Linked DNA regions of Homo sapiens: region 2 is linked to region 1. The links are contacts of gene promoters, found by promoter capture Hi-C in blood cells and fetal thymus (Javierre and others, 2016). All regions are on one chromosome and are shown on one strand. Each heading gives the region's core, a stretch centred on a gene start or on the middle of the fragment in contact. The rest is flanking DNA. Distances are from core to core; before and after follow the strand shown.

Evidence for each region. The method cuts DNA at HindIII sites, captures the fragments that hold promoters and counts their contacts. A CHiCAGO score of 5 or more calls a contact.
Region 2: a fragment that was not itself captured here is called in contact with the fragment with the promoter of ACTL9 in region 1 in 5 of 17 cell types (monocytes, M0 macrophages, M1 macrophages and 2 more); the score reaches 12.1 in monocytes.

What each region holds. Positions count from the first base shown.
Region 1 is chr19:8,695,866-8,701,361 of GRCh38, forward strand. ACTL9 (actin like 9) reads right to left here and starts at 2,930. Exons shown (of 1, transcript NM_178525.5): 1 at 1,535-2,930. The coding sequence starts at 2,836. The coding sequence ends at 1,586. The HindIII fragment of the contact is 13,278 bases long and covers 1-3,173 here.
Region 2 is chr19:8,587,938-8,593,831 of GRCh38, forward strand. It overlaps ADAMTS10 (ADAM metallopeptidase with thrombospondin type 1 motif 10), which reads right to left. Exons shown (of 26, transcript NM_030957.4): 13 at 4,826-4,933; 14 at 4,021-4,166; 15 at 3,863-3,926; 16 at 1,952-2,054; 17 at 1,515-1,648; 18 at 1,305-1,428. Among named protein-coding and RNA genes, the nearest start is that of MYO1F, 13 kb to the left of the region's middle. RefSeq lists an enhancer at 3,864-4,462. The HindIII fragment of the contact is 2,010 bases long and covers 3,197-5,206 here.

The sequences.
Region 1 (5,496 bases), core at 1,680-4,179:
TGGACTGGGAAGCCCTTAAGAGTATCACTACCCACTGATGTCCAAGTCTTGCTTGATAGTATGGTGTCCAGGGAATGGTCTTGGGGAGTGGGTTCCGGAGAGCCTGTGAGAGTTCCAGGGCGGGGTGCACATCATGGGGTGCCTGGGAGGGTATCTTTGGGAGAGTCTGTGGAGGAGGGAGTTGGGAGGTGTTGGAACACAGAGGAGGGCCTAGGGTCTAGTGGGGTCGTTATAGGATGCTCATGGGGACCTGAGCATGACATTTGGGAGGCTGGCTCTTTCCTGGGAGGAGCTGGGGGCTGAGGAAGAGGGTCAGGAAGTGTCCTGTGAGAGAGAACATTTGGGAGTATTTCGGGCGGAGACACAGTGCAAGAAAGTGGTCTTAGAGCAACAGGGGTCCACCCTGGGGTTTCGGGGGTGGATCTCAGAATGATGTGTTTTGGGAAGATGGATGGGGGATGGGTGATGGGACCACCTGGTCAGTGGAGGTGGGGCCAGGGGAGGTCTGGGGGAAAAATCCTGAGGGGAGGGGAGAGTTCTGCAGGGATGATGGATGCCAGGGGCATCCCATGGTGGGACCATTGTAGGAGAAACCCTTGAAAGTCAGAATTCAGGTCTCTGTGATGGATCTGGGGGGTCAGCACTTGTGGGGGGCATCCTAGGGGAAACCAATGAAGAGGTGGATTTGGGGTGCTGAGAACCAGGGGTATCTTGACAAGTGGAATCTTGACAAGTGGAATTTAAGAGTGTGTTTGGGGGGATTAGAAATAAGGGGAAGATTATGGGGGTGCACCCAGGGGTTGGAGCACTCACGGGAAGATTCTGGGAGGAGGTTGGAGCATTCCGGGGTAGAGACTGGGTTGGGGGGTCCCTGAGGAGCATACTAAGGGGGGTGGCAGTTTGGAGGGTTTGGAGCCCAGGGGTATTTTGGGATGCTATATCAAAAGCAATAGATAATGGGGTGAGATTAGGGAGTCAGTATTTGAGGATGTCTTGGGCACATAGTGGGTAATTAATGAATGTATGTGGGATCAATGCATGAATCACTTAAACTAGAAATGGAAGGAATTGGGTATGTGGCTTGGGTATGTGGCAGACCCTAGGGGTGTGTGTGGGCATGGGGTGGGTGGTCAGAGGCTTTCATGTTCTTCATGTTTGGGGTTGGGGGCAGGTGCCAGGTGGAGGCTTATCTATGACTCATAGGAGGAGGTGATATTTCTAACAATAGCCTTGAGGTAGTGAACTCCCCATCTCTGGGAGTGTGTAAATGGGAAGGGCACTTGTCAGAGGTGGTCTGGGGAGGGGGTGTCCCAACCCAAGGGTGCCTGGGGAGGGGCACAGATCACAGGAGGATGGGTTGACAGGATTAGAACTTAGTGGTCTGTTGGGAGTTATTCATGGGGAAGGTGGGTTTAGGGGGTCAGGATTGGGGTGTCTCAGGGCATGCATCACAGGAGGTGAGTTAGGTCAGCCTGTGGGGCGAGGTGCCCAGGAGTGGATGGGGCAGGCCCTGGAGGAAGGACAGGACAGAGCCGGCTGTAGCAGAGGCTTTACTGCCCCCACGCCCTCCCCAGCTCTGCCCTGGTCAGTAGCATTTGCGGTACACGATATAGGGACCCTGTTCCTCGTACTGCTCCCGCAGGACCCAGCAGGACTGGAAGGCGCGCAGGGAGGCCAGGATGGAGCCCCCGATCCATACGGAGAAATTCCTGGTGGGCTGGGCAGCCACCACCACGTGGGTCTCGGCTGGCAGAGCGCGCAGCAGCTCTGCCCGGAAGCGACCCTCGAAGCCGGTGAAGAGCGAGGACCCACCGCAGAGAAGCACGTTTTGGGCCAAGTCCGCGCGCATCTCCAGTGACAACTTGCGGAGACTCTGCTTGGCCATGGTGGAGAGGCCGACGGGTGACAGCCCCGGGACCTCTGGGGGGTTGAACAGCAGCTCCGGACACTGGAACAGCTCCTTGCCCAGGGTGACCGTGCGCCCATCGGGCAGCTTCAGAGTCCGCTTGTACTCCTGCTCCGGCCGGGCCTGCTCCTTCTGGAAGTCGGAGGCCACGTAGCAATAGTGGTGCTTAATGTTCTCCACTAGGTCCAGGTCCTGCTGTCCCAGGGGCAGGCCGGCCTGGAGCAGCATCTCCGCCAGGAAGGCGGTCAGGTTGTTGCCCGCCAGGTCCAGACGCTCCGTGGCGTGGAGCAGGTTGTAGCCCTGGAAGACGGGCACTGTGTAGGTGACCCCGTGTCCCGTGTCCACCACCAGCCCGCTGACACGACCGTGGGCGTAGACAGACAGCACCGACTGCGATGCCACGTACATGGCTGGGGAGCGCAGCGACTCGAAGGCCACCTCCACTAGCTTCTCGCGGTTGGTGGCCGGGCTGAAGGGTGGGTCGGAGAACAGCAGCGGGTGGTCGTGGGTGGCCACTCGGAGGTCGTGCTCCAGCAGGTGGCGCCAGATGAGCTCGGCGGCATCCCAGTCCACGACGATGCCGCTGCGCAGGGGTTGCACCAGCGTCAGCTCTGGGAGCACGCGGGCTGCCTCGCCGATGAACGTCTGCAGCCCGGACTGCCCCGAGGTGGCGGGTTTCTTGGGCTGGCAGCCCAGGATGGTGGCCACGGTGTAGGTGGGGCTGGCCTGCCCAGCAAAACCTACCTTACAGGTGCCTGTGCCCATGTCAATAACCACCGCGCCGGTCTTTGGTGGCAGCCTGTCGGCCACCATGCCGGGGGAGTCCCGCTGCAGGGGCTTGTTCACCACGTTGGGACTGGGGTTTGGGCCGGGCCTGGGGGCCTCCAGGGAGGACTGGGATTCCGAGGACTTGGGGCGACTTGCATCCATGGTTGCGGGACGCCAGGTGAGGGGGCTTTTCCTCTGGGGTTGGGGTTGCGGGGAGAAGAGGTTGAGGCCCGGCCAGTGGGGAGGGCAGGCAGACAGGGGGAGGGGTGGGCCCGCAATCTATGACGTCACGGTGCCCCTTCAGTCTTCTTAAGACATCACAATGCAGCCAAGAGGATGGGTCCCTGCCCAGCCCTGCCTGCCCAAAGGCTGTCATCTCTTCTCTGAAGAGCCAAATTTGGAGGAGGAGATGAGCATCTCAGAGCAGGGCCCTCTTAACACATTTCTGTCGGATGCGCTAGAAGCTAATACGATGGCACCTGGTTTTTGAGAAAAGACAAGCTTTTTGTTGCATGTCAACCCACTGGGAGCTAGGAATCCAGCACAAGTCTGTTTCTCAGCTGGCTTTAAGGCAGTAATTTTATTAGAAAAGTTCTGGGGCCGGGGGCTGTGGCTCACACCTGTAATCCCAGCACTTTGGGAGACCGAGGTGGGAGATCACCTGAGGTCAGGAGTTCGAGACCAGCCTGGCCAACATGGTGAAACCCGTCTCTACCAAAAAATACAAAAATTAGCCTGGCATGGTGGCGCATGCCTGTGGTCCCAGCTACTGGGGAGGCTGAGGCAGGAGAATCACTTGAACCCAGGAGGTGGAGGTTGAAGTGAACCAAGATCATGCCACCGCACTCCAGGCTGGGGGATGGAGTGAGACTCTGTCTCAAAAGAAAAAGAAAATAAAAGAAAAAAAATTAGCCAGGCATGGTGGCACATGCCTGTAGTCCCAGCTACTAGGGAGGCTGAGGCAGGAGAATCTCTTGAACCCGGGAGGTGGAGGTTGCAGCGAGCCAAGATCATGCTACTGCACTCCAGCCTGTATGACAGAGCGAGACTCATCTCAAAACAAACAAACAAACAAACAAAGAAACAAACAAAAAACCCTCATAAGTGGAAGGCATTTCAGCAAGTTGTTTCTTTTTTGATCTGCCATTCTGCAAGCTCAAACATTTCTTTGGGGCATGGTTTCACTAAAAACATGCAAAATTGGTTTCTCTAACTCTTTGGGCCACGCTTTCAGGAAGACCCAGGAATCCTCCTCTGGGTACCTCGCCATGAAGCTATTTACAGCCTAGTGGCAGAGAGCTTGCCACAGGCCTCCCTAGAATATTAGAATATTCCTCCTCAGAATATTAATTAGAAGGTGGGGCGGGCTAGCATGGCTTCCTGGTTTCCAAATGGAGACAGAGGCCAGCCTTGGTTGGGGATGGAGAGAGGCAGGGAGAGACAGGAACACCCCTGTCCTAGATTCTTTGCTTCCTCTGCTATATTCACTGCCTGAATCATTCTCCCTGTCCCATTCCTGCCAAGAAGGAATTTGCCTCTTCAAATCTCAGTCTGATGCCACCTCCTCCTGGAAGCCAACCCTGATTTCTACTCTGTACTCCAACTAGATGAGGGATGGGGGAAGTCTGCCTTCTCTCCAGGGGTTGTTACCTGCTTCCTCCTGGCAGGAGAGGGGCTCAGTGAGATACAAGAAGGGGTTTCAGTATAGATAAAAGGGGAGAGGGTGCATTTGGGAGGAAGGAATTATCTCAACAATAAATAGCAGGCTTCAAAATGCATTAGGAGAGTTGCTTCAAGACCATGGCTGTTTTTGGTGATATCAGATATCACCTGTTAGTTAAAGCAAATAAAAACGTTTTTCTTAGTGTATGTTCATGCATGTGGTGGTAGAAATCACCAGGAATAGTGCTAGTGAATGTCTTATGGGATATCTAAATGAAAGAGGTTTAATTTTCTAGTTGTGTCTAGATTTATTACTCTGCCAGAGTGTGGTTTATTGAGCATTTTAATTAATTATTGATTTACTGGTATGTGTGGTCTAATCCATGCTTTTGGAAATATTTACTCAGCAATTTATTGAGGGTCTGTTTTTTGGACTGTTCACAACAACCAGAAATACACTAAGTGATAACACTTTATTGTTTTCAATTTTTTTTTGAGACTGGGTCTTGCTATATTGTCCAGGCTGGAGTGTAGTGGTGCAATCACTGCTCACTGCAGCCTCCTTAACCTCGTGGTCTCAAGCAATCCTCCCACTTCAGCCTCCAAAGTAGCTGGGACTATAGGCATGTGCTACTATCTCCGGATAAGTTTTTAATTTTTTGTAGAAATGGGGTCTTGCTATGTTGCCCAGGCTGATCTTGAGCTCCTGGGCTCAAGTGATCCTCCTGTCTTAACCTCCCAAAGTGCTGGGATGACAGGGATTAGCCACCATGCCTGGCCTTTCTTCATTTTCTGATTTTAAAACATGGCAACTTCTTATGGCAACTTTATGACTTAGGAATGGGTACTATGTCTATTTTTTTGATGGAAAAGAAGCTCAGAGAGGTCAAGTGATTGTTCAAAGTCACAACTGGTATGAGACAGAGGCAGGAGTTGAGCCTACATCTTTGACTTACTTCAGTGGCTGACTGTGAGTCTGGGAAATTGTGAAATCTAAGATCCACCCAAAACAGCCAGGCATGGTGGCTCACATCTGTAGTCCGAGATACTAGGGATGCTGAGGTGGGAGGATCACCTGAGCCCAGGAGTTGGAGGCTGCAGTGAGCCAAGATCACACCACTGCACCCAGCCTGGGTGACAGAGCGAGACCCTGTCTCAAG
Region 2 (5,894 bases), core at 2,952-5,451, 110 kb before region 1:
AAAAAAAAAAAAAGAATTTTGTAGAGTTTGGCCGGGTGTGGTGGCTCACACCTGTAATCCTAGCACTTTGGGAGGCTTAGGTGGGTGGATCGCTTGAGGTCAGGAGTTCCAGGCCAGCCTGGCCAATATGGTGAAACCCCATCTCTTCTAAAGATACAAAAATTAGCCGGGCATGTAGTGCATGTCTGTAGTCTCAGCTACTTGGGATGGTGAGGCAGGAGAATTTCTTGAACCTGGGAGGCAGAGGTTGCAGTGAGCCGAGATCAAGCCACTGCATTCTAGCCTGGGTGACAGATTGAGACTCTGTCTCAAAAAAAATTTTTTTTTTTGTAGAGTTGGGGTCTCCCTAGGTTGCCCAGGCTGGTCTCAAACTCCTGGGCTCAAGGGATCCTCCCGCTTCAGCCTCCCAAAGCCCTGGGATTACAGGTGTGAGCCACCGTGCCTGTCTCACTTTTGATGCCAGCGGCCAGGCTGCTTATTATAAAACCCCAATGGGACTCTACCTGGGGACTGAAACTCACACTCTGCAACCTACTCCTGCCTCACCTGGACACACTCCCTCCCTCTGACAGTGCCTACGGCTTCCTCAGCCTTCCAGATATTTCCTGAGCCTCCTCCCCTCTTGCCCACTCCCTGGGCTCTCTGTCACTTGCCCAAAGCCCAAGCTGGAAAAGGTGCTTTCTACATTCTCTGAATATCCCCTCCCGTAGTAAGCCTTTCCCTGCTAGCACAGAACATTCATTCTCGCAGCTCCTCTGGCTCACAGAGGATGGAAAGTGATGCTTGCTTCCACCCAGACGTGGCATGAGCTTCTCCAGGAGGCAGAGGAGACAGATTCGGGCTCCTGTCTCCTGAGACACTCTTTTTTTTTTGAGACAGAGCCTCGCTCTGTCGCCCAGACTGGAGTGCAGTGGTGTGATCTCGGCTCACTGCAACCTCCACCTCCCAGGTTCAAGCAGTTCTCGTGCCTCAGCTTCCTGAGTAGCTGGGATTACAGGTGCTCGCCACCACGCCCAGCTAATTTTTGTATTTTTAGTAGAAACAGGGTTTCACCATGTTGGCCAGGCTGGTCTCAAACTCCTGGCCTCAAGTGATCATCCTGCCTCGGCCTCCAAAAGCGATGGGATTATAGGCTTGAGCCACTTCACCTGGCTGAGCCCGCAGGACTTTTGGGGACTCCTGACACTCCACGGGGCCCCTGGGGTCTGAGGAGTTAGTGATCTCAGCTACTGCACTGGGATCAGTTCCACCTGCAGTCAGCTGGCCCATGCAGGGAGTGTGGGAGGGAAGCTGGAGACTCTCACCGGCCCCAGGTGAGGCTGGGCTGAAGACGCCCTCGATGGTCTCGCAGGCACTGCCGTCACCGCCACACACTCGGCACTTGTCCTCCCGCAGGTCGGAGCCCAGGACTCGGTCGCAGCCCACGTGCTGCGTGGAGAAGGCGTGAGTGAGGCGACCCCCTAACCCACCCCCGCTCCCCATCCCCTCTCCACCTCCCTGGGAGTCCCCTCCACCTTGCATTCGCCACTGACGCAAATGTCCACCGTGTCTGGACGGCAGGGTGTCCCGTCCACCACGGCTGCCGCCCTCTCCGTGTAGAAGTTGAAGCCTTCCGCTAGGCACGTGAGCGAGCAGGCCTTCACGCCCCCTGGGGGGCACGGCCCCGTCACACCACGGGCCAGGCCACCCCGGAACTCTTTGCTTGCTCCCTGGGGGAGTGAGGCCAAGAGGGACAGACCCCAGACCCAAGAGGAAGGGCAGCTTGGGCAGAGGGAGTGGGGGCTCCCAGCGTCACGTTGAACCCCCATGGTACCGTATCCCAGGTACTCTGTCTCCCCGGGTGGGGACAGGGCTCAGGGCAGACCCCGGGATGCTGCATTCATCCACCTGCTGCTGGACACTCCCACGGCTGCCCTTCACGGCCCCACAGCCTTTGGAGTCCCACACTCACCTCCCCGGTACGTTTTCCACTTGTAGAATTTCCCACGGAAAGGGATGCTGTCAAATTCAGAACACTGCACTTCTCTGAAGTCCTGGGAGCCAGGGGGACAGTCCTGGGGGCAGGAGAGGAGAGATGGAGGGAGGCCAGGCTTGGGGGGATGGAGTCAGAAAAGGGGTGCTCAGAGAAAGATGGGCTGGAGGAGGGAGGCTAGAGGCAGGGAGGCCAGGGAGGAGGCTGTGGTGGTCTGCGTGAGACTAGGCCTGGAAGGTAGCCTGGGCTGGGCGTGTAGACACATCTGGGATAGGACTGGATCCCTCATTAGAGGTCTGAGGGTGAGCTGGGCAGGACACACCTGGGTTTCTGGTTCCAGGCTATGGAATCTTTCTTGCTTGCTTGCATTTTTTTTCTTTTTTGAGACAGAATCTCACTCTGTCGCCCAGGCTGGGGTACAGTGCATGATCTTAGCTCATTGCAACCTCCATCTCCTGGGTTCAAGCAATTCTTCTGCCTCAGCCTCCCGAGTAGCTGGGATTACAGGTGCATGCCACTATGCCTGGCTAATTTTTGCATTATTTATTTATTTATTTATTTATTTTTAGACAGAGTTTCGCTCTCGTTGCCCTAGTTGGAGTGCAGTGACACAATCTCGGCTCACTGCAACCTCCGCTTCCTGGATTCAAGTGATTCTCCTGCCTCAGCCTCCCAAGTAGCTGGGACTACAGGCGCGTGCCACCACGCCTGGCTAATTTTTTGTATTTTTAGTAGAGACGGGGTTTCACCATGTTAGCCAGGCTGGTCTCGAACTCCTGACCTCAGGTGATTGACCCGCCTCGGCCTCCCAAAGTGCTGGGATTGCAGGCATGAGCCACCTCATCCGGCCTAATTTTTGTATTTTTAGTAGAGATGGGGTTTTGCCATGTTGGCCAGGATGGTCTCGAACTCCTGACCTCAGGTGATCTGCCTGCCTCAGCCTCCCAAAGTGCTGGGATTATAGGTGTGAGCCACTGCACCTGGCCACATGGAGTCTTTCTTGAGAGAGAAGGTCTGGAAGGGATCAGGGTTTATAGAAAGTGCTAGCATGTGGATTCTCTGAAGACCTGGTTCCCCCCAGCTGGGAGGCTGAAAAGTCCAAAGCTCTCACTGCCCTCTAAAACACCCCCTCCCCAGTAAACTTCTCACTGCTCACTGATGGTTGCAGGTCAGCTGAGGGCACAAGCAGAGGACAGACACCTGTCACTGGGTTTGGTGAGAGGAAGCTTCAGCTACAACTTTGGGGGATGACAGAAGGCAGGGGTAGGACTCTTCAGGGGAAGTTGGGCTGTAAAGGGAGGGGAGAGACTGGATGGTAGGGGGTTGTGAGGGCCAAGCAGTGATTTCAAGGTGGGGGCTTGTAGTCTAAATGTAGGAGGAAAAGAGAGCTGGAAGGAGCCAGGTCTTTAAGGAGGAGGGGTTGGGGACGAGAAGGTGGTGGGGGTCAGGGAGAGGAGGGAAGAGAGGGGTGGCGGCTGCAGGTTCCCCAGGAGGCAGCAGGTGCCTGGATGAAGCACTCTGATAGCGTTTTTGTTTTTTTTTTTTTTTTTGAGATGGAGTTTCGCTCTGTCACCCAGGCTGGAGTGCAGTGGTGCGATCTCGGCTCACTGCAGCCTCCGCCTCCCGGGTTCAAGCGATTCTCCTGCCTCAGCCTCCCGAGTAGCTGGGATTACAGGCGCCTGCCACCACGCCCAGCTAATTTTTGTATTTTTAGTAGAGACGGGGTTTCACTATGTTAGCCAGGATGGTCTCGATCTCCTGACCTCGTGATCCGCCTGCCTTGGCCTCCCAAAGTGTTGGGATTACAGGCGTGAGCCACGGTGCCCGGCCTCTGATAGCTGTTTTTAATGCTTCCTCCCCCCACCCCTCAAGGGGTTTGGGGGAACTCACATCCGTGTTGCAGGAGCGGTGCCGCCTTCTCTCACCCAGACAGTACTTGCCCCCGATGGTTGGCCTGGAAAGGGTGGTGGGATAGGAGAGGGATGAGGCAGTGGGCGATGGGGGCAGGGGTCGCGCTGCCCTCCCGGGTGGGGGTCCTGAGGGCTGACCTGGGGCTGTCGCAGTGACGGCTAGAAGAGGACACGCCGCCGCCACAGGTCCGGCTGCAGTCGCCCCATGGAGTCCACGGCCCCCAGGCTCCGTCCACACCCTCTGGGCGCGACCCAAAGGGGACACAGACCCGTTTGTAGCACCACTGGGTGGGGGGAGACAGGAAGGAGTGAGTCCAGCCCGGAGGACACTCGTCGGCCCCATGCACCGTTCCCCACTCCAGGCCCCAGCCAGAGATATCAGCCTCTCCGGGATGGGCAGAGGCGGGGTCTGAACATGCGAACAGAGTCAGGTTACGTAGGAGAGTGGTCTGGGAGACAGACCAGGTACAAGCGAGAGGCGTGGCCTGAGCACAGGGTGCTTAACGGGGAGGGGTGTAGACAGGACCACGATAAGCGTGGAGACGAGGTGGGGCGTGGCTTCAGGCTGGGGAGGGGAGGTCTACAGGCAGTAGGCGTGGCCAGAGCCGAGGGCAGCACAGGGGATGGGCGTGGCCAATGAGGGAGAGAGCAAACAGTAGGCGTGGCCAGAGCCGTGGGAATCATTACACGGTGGGCGTGGCCAACGCGGGAGGGAGTTAAACAGTAGGCGTGGCCAGAACCAAGGGACGCATAGACGGTGGGCGTGGCCAACGCGGGAAGGAGCAAGCAGTAGGCGTGGCCACAGCCGAGGGAGCACAAATGGCGGGCGTGGCCAATGTGGGAGGGAGCAGATAATAGGCCGAAGGACAGGCGGGTAGGCGTGGCCAACGCGGGAGGTGGCTCAGGGGGCGTGGCCCAGTTGGGGGCCCTGGCCGGCGCTCACCCCCTTGTCGATGGTGTGCGTCTGGCACAGCGTGCCCTCGGCGGCCGGGATGCTGTTGGTGATGCACCGGTTGCTCTTGCTCAGACACCACAGCTCGCTGCAGACCTCCTGCGGGCCGAGGTGCCCGCTCAGGCTCGCCCCCCTCCCTTCCTCCCTGGGGCAGCCCGCCCGGCTTGGGAGGACCCAGATGTCCGGCTCACTGCCGGTCCCAGAGCAGAGAGCCCGGTGCTCCCTTCCTGGCTCGCGGTGGGTCTTCGTGCATCCCCTTGCGGGGCATGGCCTGTGACTTATACTCTCCCAATAAGCTCCATTTATGGAGCACTTTATACATGCCATATACCTCTTTAGGCAGTACTACCCCATCTTACTGGGAGAAAACCAAGCTTCAGACAGGTAAGGTCACACAGCTACTAAGGGAATAGCCTGGAGTTTAACCCAGCTCTTTAATTCAGAGTCTGTGCTCTAACGAACTTTGCAATTCAGTTCCTGGTGCCTTCTGAGTTTCTGGAAGGAAACGTGGGAACTGCTGAGGAATGAACAGGAAGGATTTGGGGTTCTTTTATGGGATGGGCAAAGTAGCCGAAGAGAAAGTGGTGGTTCTGAGAAATCGGCCTGGATGATGACTAGGCCAACGGCCTCATCTCTAGTTTTTTCCAGCTGTTGGTTCTCTTTGTTCCCCCATCTAAACTGGAGAAGCCCCCAACACTTTTAAGCTATGTGGAGGGGTGGGAGTTTGGGAGGGGACAATGCCGAGTTAGGTCTGTGTGGGACATGCCTCTCTTTCTCCAGGTGAAAAATCAGCCCCACCTTCTTCCCGTCTGAATCCTGGATGGGCTGAACTAGTCCCAGGGACTCACTCTGACTCTTAAAGTCCAGGTTAATATCCCTGGAGAAGCCCCAGTGAGTTCAGGTGAAGCAAAATCTCTGACCCTCTTGGCCCACATCCTAAGCAACCTCCCAGCGTCTTTCCTCTAAAAAGTAGGTGGTCCTCTCTGACCCTCTTGGCCCACATCCTAAGCAACCTCCCAGCGTCTTTCCTCTAAGAAGTAGGTGGTCCTTCTGTAATTAT